Regions from separate parts of the Homo sapiens genome. Here regions 2 and 3 are each linked to region 1. Evidence: promoter capture Hi-C in 16 types of primary human blood cells and fetal thymus (Javierre and others, 2016). All regions are on one chromosome and are shown on one strand. The core of a region is centred on a gene start or on the middle of the fragment in contact, and the rest is flanking DNA. Distances in the headings are between cores, read along the strand shown. Region 1 holds the start of COPS3 (COP9 signalosome subunit 3). Region 2 has its middle 15 kb from the start of SMCR2. Region 3 holds the start of LINC02090 (long intergenic non-protein coding RNA 2090).

Region 1 (2,769 bases), core at 157-2,656:
TAGTAAGAGAAATGCTTGACCTTAAGGAACTCCATGCCAGTTAGAAGCAATGGATCCGTAAACCAAAAGTATCTGAGACCAGTCTCAATCGAGAAAGTTTATATTGCCAAGGTGAAGGATGCGATGATAACACGGCCTCAGGAGCTCCTCAGGACATGTGCCCAAGGTGCGGGTACAGTTTGGTTTTATACATTTTAGGGAGACATGAGTCATCGATCAATACATGTAAGATGTACGTTGGTTAGGATCGGAAAGACGGGCTAACTCGGGGCAGTGGGGGGCTTCTACCTTATAGGTAGACTTAAAGATTTTTTGATTGGTAATTGGTTGAAAGAGTTATTATCTAAAGACCTGGAAGTAAATAGAAAGAAATATCTGGGTTATGATTATAAGGGGTTGTGGAGACCAAGGTTTTATCATGCAGATGAGGCTTCCAGGTAGCCTGCTATTCAGACAGAATAGATTGTAAATATTTCTTATCAGTCTTGAGTCTACCAGTCTTAAGGTCTCTGTGTTGATGTTTGTGAGGCATGTCTGACTACCACTTCCCATCATGGCCTGAACTAGTTTTTCAGGATAAATTGGAATGTCCTTGGCTTCAGATAGGGTCCACCAGTCAGTTGGGGGGCTTAGACTTTTATTTTTGGTTTACAGATATCACATGGACTATAGAGACACATTTCTGTAACAGAGTAGAAGTGCAACATGAGAAGAACAAAGTGCTTTAGGCGACAAGCGGAGGAGGGAGACATCAATCCCAGATGGGAAAAATCAATTCACTTTCTGTGTGTGGTGTTACTTATTTATTTATTTTTTGCAGGGAAGGGATCGATTCATTCAACGTACACCTTGAATGAATAACTATAGTTCTCCCTACGTCCTATGCACTGTCCTAAGTGTTTTACGTGGTTAAGGACACTAAGATTTTACAGATGGGGAAAACAATGCACACGACAGTCAAGTGACCCGCTCAACGTCACACAGCTACTAAGTGGTAGAAAAGGCAGTTGAACCCAGGCTGCTTGGCTCCAGAGTCTAATATCACGGGGAAAACCTCACGGGAGACGTGGCAACGAAGTTGTGCTTCATTGAAGTATCTGTCCAGGTGGAAAACCGCAGGGCCTCTCTAGCAAAATCCAGAACCAGAAAATACTTGCTTAATTATGAGTTTCCTTCCTTCTTTTGCCCACTATCCCCATTTAACCTGCGGAGGGATTTCAGAAGTGCAGTGAATAAAGATGCAGGGGACTATGGAACACTAATTTCCGGCTACGGCGAATTCAGGCTGTTTCCATGGAAACAGTAACGGGTGGGCAGCTAGGTATAGTCTCGCGGTGCTTGAACCAGCGGAAGTGACGTCGCCGCTCGCGAGGACCTCAGGTGGATCGCCGCGGCCCCTCCTCCCAGAGCGGCAGCCTTTTCCCGCGCGTGCTGCCTTCGCCGCTCGGGCCGCCCGGGGGAAAACATGGCGTCTGCCCTGGAGCAGTTCGTGAACAGTGTCCGACAGCTCTCAGCTCAAGGTAACGCCCTAGGCCGCCGGGCTGGGCATGGGCGGGTACCGGGAACTGGCCTGGATCCCCAGGCGCCAGCACGGACGGCTGGAACAGCCCTTTTAGTCCTGAGACTCTTCTCCGGGGCCGGGCTTGGGGTTGCGGCGTTTAGATCAGGGCAGGATCGAGCGCGGCCGAGTGTAGGCAGCCCCCTCGCGCTCCGCTGTCCTCGCCGGCCGGCCTCCCCTCCCTCGGGCCGCCGGGAGCCCCCTCCCCCCGGCCTGGGCCCCTTCCACCGGGCGCTTTGCTTGACAGTTTGGGGGCGTGACTTCCGCCAGGAGCCATCTCGGGCGACTATTGGTTCCTTCTGTCTCTCTTGCCTTCGGTGATTGGCGCACCGCCATGTCATCTTTGCCGCCGATCCGCAGCTTGCTGACTAGGCCGCCGGGAGCGGGCGGGAGGCGAGTCCGTTCTGGGTGTCTTGGCTCTATGGCTCGCCTCTGCCAGCTCCTCCGCTGCCAGGCGGCGCACGCTCGGGAACCTGTGCGCCTATTTTGGTCCTACAGAATGCTGCGGAAGCTCTCGCTCGTAGGACTCCATTTCTTCTTCTTTGTTTTTTTTTAGCCGAGGCTGGAGTGCAGTGGCGCGATCTCGGCTCACTGCAACCTCAGCCTCCCGGCTTCAAGCGATTCTCCTGTCTCAGCCTCCCGAGTAGCTGAGATTACAGGCGCCCGCCAGCTCACACGGCTTTTTTTTTTTTTGAGACGGAGTCTCACTGTCTCCCAGGCTGGAGTGCAGTGGCGCGGTCTCGGCTCACCTCAACCTTCGCCTTCGAGGTTCAAGCGATTCTCCTGTCTCAGCCTCCCGAGTAGCTGGGATTACAGGCGCCTGCCCGGCTAATTTTTGTATTTTTAGTAGAGACAGGGTTTCACCATGTTGGCCTGGCTGGTCTCGAACCTTGATCTCAGGTGATCCACTGGCCTCGGCCTCCCAAAGTGCTGGGATTACAGGCATGAGCCACCGCGGCCAGCCCACGCGGCTAATTTTTTCGTATTTTTAATAGAGATGGGGTTTTTACCATGTTGGCCAAGCTGGTTTCGAACTCCTCACCTGAAGTGATCCGCCCACCTCGGCCTCCCAAAGTGCTAGGATTACAGGCGTGAGCCACTGCGCCCGGCCAGGACTCCATTTCTAGGGGTAGAATTGTGATGATTTTACTCGCACTTTCCAGGTTGTTTGGTTCATTCATTGCGTATGAATGTACCGAATTCTGGACCTG
Region 2 (2,769 bases), core at 126-2,625, 380 kb before region 1:
TGCTTCTAGCATTCATCTGACAAACATCTATTAAGCTTGCTTTTGGGGGCCACGACCGATGTAAGCCTGCAGCTGTGAGGTCTACCCTAGGCTAGGGAAGGTTATTCTGAGAAGAAAGTGAACCCCAAGGAAGGGGAAATCCAGAAGAAGATTCCTGATGACATCTGACAGCTGGATCCAGCTGTTCCTGAAGCTTTTATATTCCTGTTTTGTTTGCCAATAATTTTTTTTGTCATTTACAACTCAAAGCCAGGCCGTCTGGTCCAACCCCTTGTCCCCTGATACTTGATGCTTCTCCATAGCAGCTATGACAGTCTCTGCTTGGATGCTGCTCATGATGGGGATCTCACTACCTACCAAGGGAGCTCTACAAGGGCAGAACCAACTCTGGTGCAAGTGAGAGCTGATAATCTATTGCTCTTGTCTGGAAATGGTGTGCACAGCTGGGAGCTCCCCTGGATTGGATTCAGGGCAGTGGAAAGAGGACCCTTCATGGTTCAGTAGACCTGAATTCAAATTTCAGGCCTGGTGGTGACTCACTGTGTGACCTGAGTGAGGCAAGGGACTTCCCCTACCTGAACCTCAGTTTCAACATCTGTAAAATGGTCTCCCTGGCCACACTGATTTGGTGAGGACACCACGAGGATTAAGCAAGAAAATGTGTGTGAAGCTCTGGGCGCACGCCAGTGTGTGGCACACAGGGGACACCTGAGGGCCACATCCCTCCTGTGGGTAATGCTAATGGACACTGCACACCCATCTGAGAGGGTCCACTCTGCGTCCATAAGAGGTTGGCACTGGGGAGTCCGCACTGGGCCAGGCTGCTCCTGCTCTGCGGAGCGTCTGCTGCAGCTGTGACTCACAGCCCGACCACACTCACAGCCCAAGACTCGGAGCCGTCTGTTGTTATGGCGACGCAAGCCCACTGGAGTCCTGGGCTGTCAGTCATCAAGGTCTGACGCTGGGGGTGTGTTTTGGCGTGTGGGTGTGGCCTGTGTGTTTGTGTAGGGGGATGGGCGTGTGAATGCTATTCCTGCGTGTTCAAGGCAGTGTGCTGGTGTTTGTGTGTGGACTTCCTGTGTGTGCAAGGCTGGGCATGTCTGCATTGAGGGCGTTTGTCTGTGTGTGGTGTTGAGCTGTGTGTGCGGTCTGGGTGTCTGTGGGCTGTGTGTGTGTGTAATGTGCCTTAGGAACGCTGGCCCTGAGGCAGGGTGGACAGGAGGGTGGCCCAGGGAGGGGTGTAGGCCTGGGTGTCTATCGCTCTGACCTGGTGGCCCTGGGTTGGTCACTGCACCTTTCTCAGCCTGTTTCCCCCTCAATAAGCACAGCAGGTTGCAAAGGGCACTCACACTCGCTATTTCATTTAATCCTCCTGTGATCCTGTACCAGCAGCTGCTCACTCAACTCATATTTAGAGTCCACTCTGTGTCAGGCCCTGGGGATACAGCCATGAACAGAGACTTCCTCCGCTGAGGGTCTCCAGTCTCCAGTCTGGTGGGAGATGGACAATACACAAACAAGCAAACAAAACCAGAGACTCCAGTGGGTGCTGGGAGAAGGAACAGCAGGAGGAGGGCACAGAGAGTGATGGGGTGGAAACTGAGGACAGGGTGGTCAGAGAGGTGACTTATGAGCAGAGGTTCTGAGGAAGGAGGCCAGAGTCATGGGAAGAGCATCGCAAGCATCGCAACAGTAAGTGCAGAGGCCCTGAGGCAGGTGGAGGTTCATGTATCTGTGGCCCAACGAGCAGGCCGCGCACTGCAGCGGTGTGGGTGGGATGGGCAAGGCCACTGCCATTTGCAGTTTGTGGATTCCAAGGCAAGTGCACTGGTGAAAACAGCCCATTGTTCATCCACTGATGAATGGAGAGGCAACATGCGGTATGTCCAGACAAGGAAATAGTATTTGTCAATAAAAAGGAACAAATGGCCAGGCGCGGTGGCTCATGCCTGTAATCCCAGCACTTTGGGAGGCCAAGGCGGGCAGATCACTGAGATCAGGAGTTTGAGACCAGCCTGACCAACATGGAGAAACCCTGTCTCTACTAAAAATACAAAATTAGCCAGGCTTGGTGGTGCATGCCTGTAATCCCAGCTGCTTGGGAGGTTGAGGCAGGAGAATCGCTTAAACGCAGGAAGCGGAGGTTGCAGTGAGCTGAGATCGTGCCATTGCACTCCAGCCTGGGCCACAAGAGTGAAACTCCGTCTCAAAAAAAAGGAACAAGCTACTGGTACGTACAAAAATATCAGTGAATCTTAAGTGGATTATGCTGAGCAAAAGTAGCCAGCCTTGAAAGGCTGTAGGCTGCAGGATTCTATTATGTGACATTCCGGGAGTGACAAAATGATAGGGACAGAAAACTAATCAGCGGTTGCCAGGAACTGGGGATGGGGAAAAGGCTGACCTGACCACAAGGGGGCTTGAGGCAGTTATGTGATTTGACACATTTGTCAAAATCCATAGAATTGTATGCTAAAAATTGATGAGTTTAATTGTATGTAAATTATACGTAAATATACCTGGCCACACACCAACACCCAACATCTCACAAAGCTTGGGGCTGAGTGACCCTCCCACCTCCCGGAGAGCTCGTGAGAGCAGCTCTGGGAAACACACTTTTCTTCAGGTCCTGTCATTTCATTTTCAACTGCCTTGTCCTTAATCTGTCTTTGCCGTGAATATAGTAGTTTATTTTCTTTTTTGTTTATGTTTTTGTTTTTGTTTTGTTTTGAGATGGAGTTTTGCTCTTGTAGCCCAGGCTGGAGTGCA
Region 3 (2,769 bases), core at 94-2,593, 290 kb after region 1:
CCAGGAGCCAAGAATACCCAGGTTGCTCATTTGAACCCATATGGTGAAGTTTCTCTCTCTCTCTTACTCTCTCGCTCTCGCTCTTGCTCTCTCTCTCTCTGTAATTTATTCTGTAATTTCGGTTTTCAAAAACAAAACCCTTCCATAGTACAAAGTTCTCAGACTGGGTGCTGTCTCCAGTGAGTTCCTTGTAAAACAAATACGTGTTGCTTGTGGTTGTACAAGTTGCACAGCTACGCCAGGAGGAAGTAGACAGCTGTGAACGAGCTGGGGCCACACCTGCTTTGTGGTGGGGCTGTCCCTTGCATCCTAGGATGGTTGGGAACATCCCTGGCCTCTACCCCCAGATGCCAGTAGCAATCCCTCCCACCCCCATCATTGAGACACCCCAGATGTCCCCAGCATGGCCACATGTCTCCTGACAGTGAAGGCAGAAGCACTTTGGTTGAGAACCGCTGGTGCAGAGCAGAAATGGCCTGATGAGAAGAGGGATGAGAGGCTGAGGTGCCTGCAGTCTCCCCTCTGTGTGTCTCCAATCCACTTTTGTGTTTTACATATGTAGGGAGGCATTATGAACAATGTCTAGTGCTATGTTGGGGTCCGTGTTTAAAATGTACTTACGTGCAGCTGTGCTCTGCCCTGCCTGTCCGCGCTCGTTGCTGTGTGGCTTGTGTCTTTGACCTGTTCTGTGATGCTCCATTACAAGAGCACATTGCATCACATTCATCCCTTTCCCGGTTACTATATCAGGCAGGACCTGGGCAGGAAACAGTGGTGCGGTCAACATGAAAAAGAGCTGAATGGACAGACTTTAGCAAAGCGTAGGCAGGGCTGACAAAAACAGTGCCACGTTGTCTTCCTGGGGTTCATGGTTTCAGATGCTGCTGCAGGGACTGTCTCTGCTCATGGCTCCTAGTGTCCATGTGCAGAAGCATCTCCAAAGGCCCTTGCAAGGGGACTCACTGGGGCCAGGTTATCCACAAACACCGTGATACTCAAAATCTAGTTTTACCCTAAGGAGGTAGGGGATGACTCTTTGGATCTAGAAGTGAAGGCACCTCCTAAGGGAATTTATCCTGAGTCACCTCCTCCTGGCAACTCACCCAAGGACTCCCCATGGGGCTTCCTCACACAGAGATATCCCCTACCATAGGAAAAAGACTCCTGGGTCCGGCCTCAGCTCCCTCTCGTTGGCTGTGCCTGTGTTTCTCACTCATCTGGCCAACCCACAGAAGTGGGTGGAGCCGGGTCTGTGCTGGGCTCTGGGGAGCATCTGACGAGTCACTGCAGAAGCAGCACTTTCTGCAGGAAGAACAGAAGTGTCTGCCTGTCTCTCACTTCCTTTTTGGGGCCTGGGAGGGTTGGCCTGTGAGTGGCCAGCTGCTATTTATGGGGCTCGACTGCTCTGTGTGAAACCCCAGTCTCTCTCGAGAGGGAAGAGTAGTGGGAAAGGGTGGTGCCAGGTGACATTGCCCCTGGTCTGGGGTACAATCAGCCCAGGTGCAGCGGTCACAACGTCAGAGTAGGGGGTGTAGCTCAGGGGTAGAGCATTTGACTGCACAACGTCAGAGTGAAACCCATCTAGGTCAGGATGGACGTGATGGGTTTCCTAACAAATCAACTCTGTGTTCCTTGTATTTGTAGACGCTCAGTGTATAGAGTGGGCTTTTAGTTGGGTGACCACATTCCAACCCCCCTGATTTGGACAGAAGGGGAAACTGAGGCCCACAGAGGCTAAGTGCCTAGTCTGAGGTCACATGCTGAGCTTGGGACATCAAGAGGACTAGAGTCCATAGTCTGGACTCTCATTCTAGTGCTCTGCCTTTTCATGGGGGTGGCAGGGTCACCCGTTTGGCGCAAAATTAAGCTGAGTTTCAAAGGCCACTGAGCATCTTCCCCAGCCCCAGCCATTCTCAGGGTCCTGGGAGGAGGACAACTGTCTCCTGTATTGTCTTGAACCCCTGGTGGATGGGCGGGGCAGGGGGTAGGAAGGGGCAGAGAAGGGGCTGTCCAGATGTGACACATCTGGAGTCTCCACATCTGCCCCAGGGGTGATGAACAGAGCTGCCCTCTCCCGCCTGTTCATGGTGGCCTTCGGTCATCTTTAGTTTTGTACCACCCGGGTTGCTTTTGGGTGTGCCTTGTGACCTGTTCTCGCTGGAATGAAATGGCCTGTGCATTCCTCCCTTCCTCCTCCTCCCTCTCCACCTCCCTCCCTCCCTCCTCCCCCATACGTGTACTGAGCCCATACTCTGTGCCCCTTGCCTTTGAGATGAATGGCCGGGGCTGTCCTAACTGAGGAGGCAAGATTTGGGCAAGCTTCCTGGGAGGCAAGCAGTCACCCAAGCACACATCTGGGCAGAGAGCATTCCAGGCAGCGGAACAGCACAGAGGGGAAGTTGTCAGCATTGGCCTGGTGTGAGCAGGGGAGAGTGGCAGAGGGCTCAGGGAGAGAAGGCCCAGGTTCAAGGCCCAGGGCCATTATAAAGATCCAGTGTTTAGTCAGAGCAGCTGGGGAGTGGCAGAGGTTCCTGGGCAGTGGAGGGCTCAGCTGTGGCTCAGGTGCTAACAGAGTACATGGCACCTGGGGGTGGGGGGGCCTCTGAGAAGGGGCTGGTAGGGGGTGGCTTGAAGCAGGCCTGAAGGTGGTAAGTGCTCAGATGATTTTGGTCATATTTTGAACGTAAAGCCAACAGTGTTTGCTAATGGATTGGTGGAAGGGAAGGAGACAGGGAGAGAAAGAGAAGTCAAGGATGACTCCGGGTACTT

Evidence for each region. The method cuts DNA at HindIII sites, captures the fragments that hold promoters and counts their contacts. A CHiCAGO score of 5 or more calls a contact.
Region 2: a fragment that was not itself captured here is called in contact with the fragment with the promoter of COPS3 in region 1 in 1 of 17 cell types (endothelial precursors); the score reaches 5.0 in endothelial precursors.
Region 3: the fragment with the promoter of LINC02090 here is called in contact with the fragment with the promoter of COPS3 in region 1 in 14 of 17 cell types (total B cells, total CD8 T cells, M1 macrophages and 11 more); the score reaches 10.0 in total B cells.

What each region holds. Positions count from the first base shown.
Region 1 is chr17:17,279,883-17,282,651 of GRCh38, reverse strand. It overlaps COPS3 (COP9 signalosome subunit 3), which reads left to right and starts at 1,406. Exons shown (of 12, transcript NM_003653.4): 1 at 1,406-1,520. The coding sequence starts at 1,466. RefSeq lists enhancers at 1,209-1,308, 1,959-2,018 and a silencer at 1,529-1,768. The HindIII fragment of the contact is 7,073 bases long and covers 1-2,769 here.
Region 2 is chr17:17,661,650-17,664,418 of GRCh38, reverse strand. No RefSeq gene overlaps it. Among named protein-coding and RNA genes, the nearest start is that of SMCR2, 15 kb to the left of the region's middle. RefSeq lists enhancers at 597-736, 1,227-1,316. The HindIII fragment of the contact is 2,360 bases long and covers 196-2,555 here.
Region 3 is chr17:16,986,903-16,989,671 of GRCh38, reverse strand. LINC02090 (long intergenic non-protein coding RNA 2090) reads right to left here and starts at 1,343. Exons shown (of 3, transcript NR_146886.1): 1 at 1,149-1,343; 2 at 622-757. RefSeq lists enhancers at 1,001-1,220, 1,853-2,683. The HindIII fragment of the contact is 6,040 bases long and covers 1-2,321 here.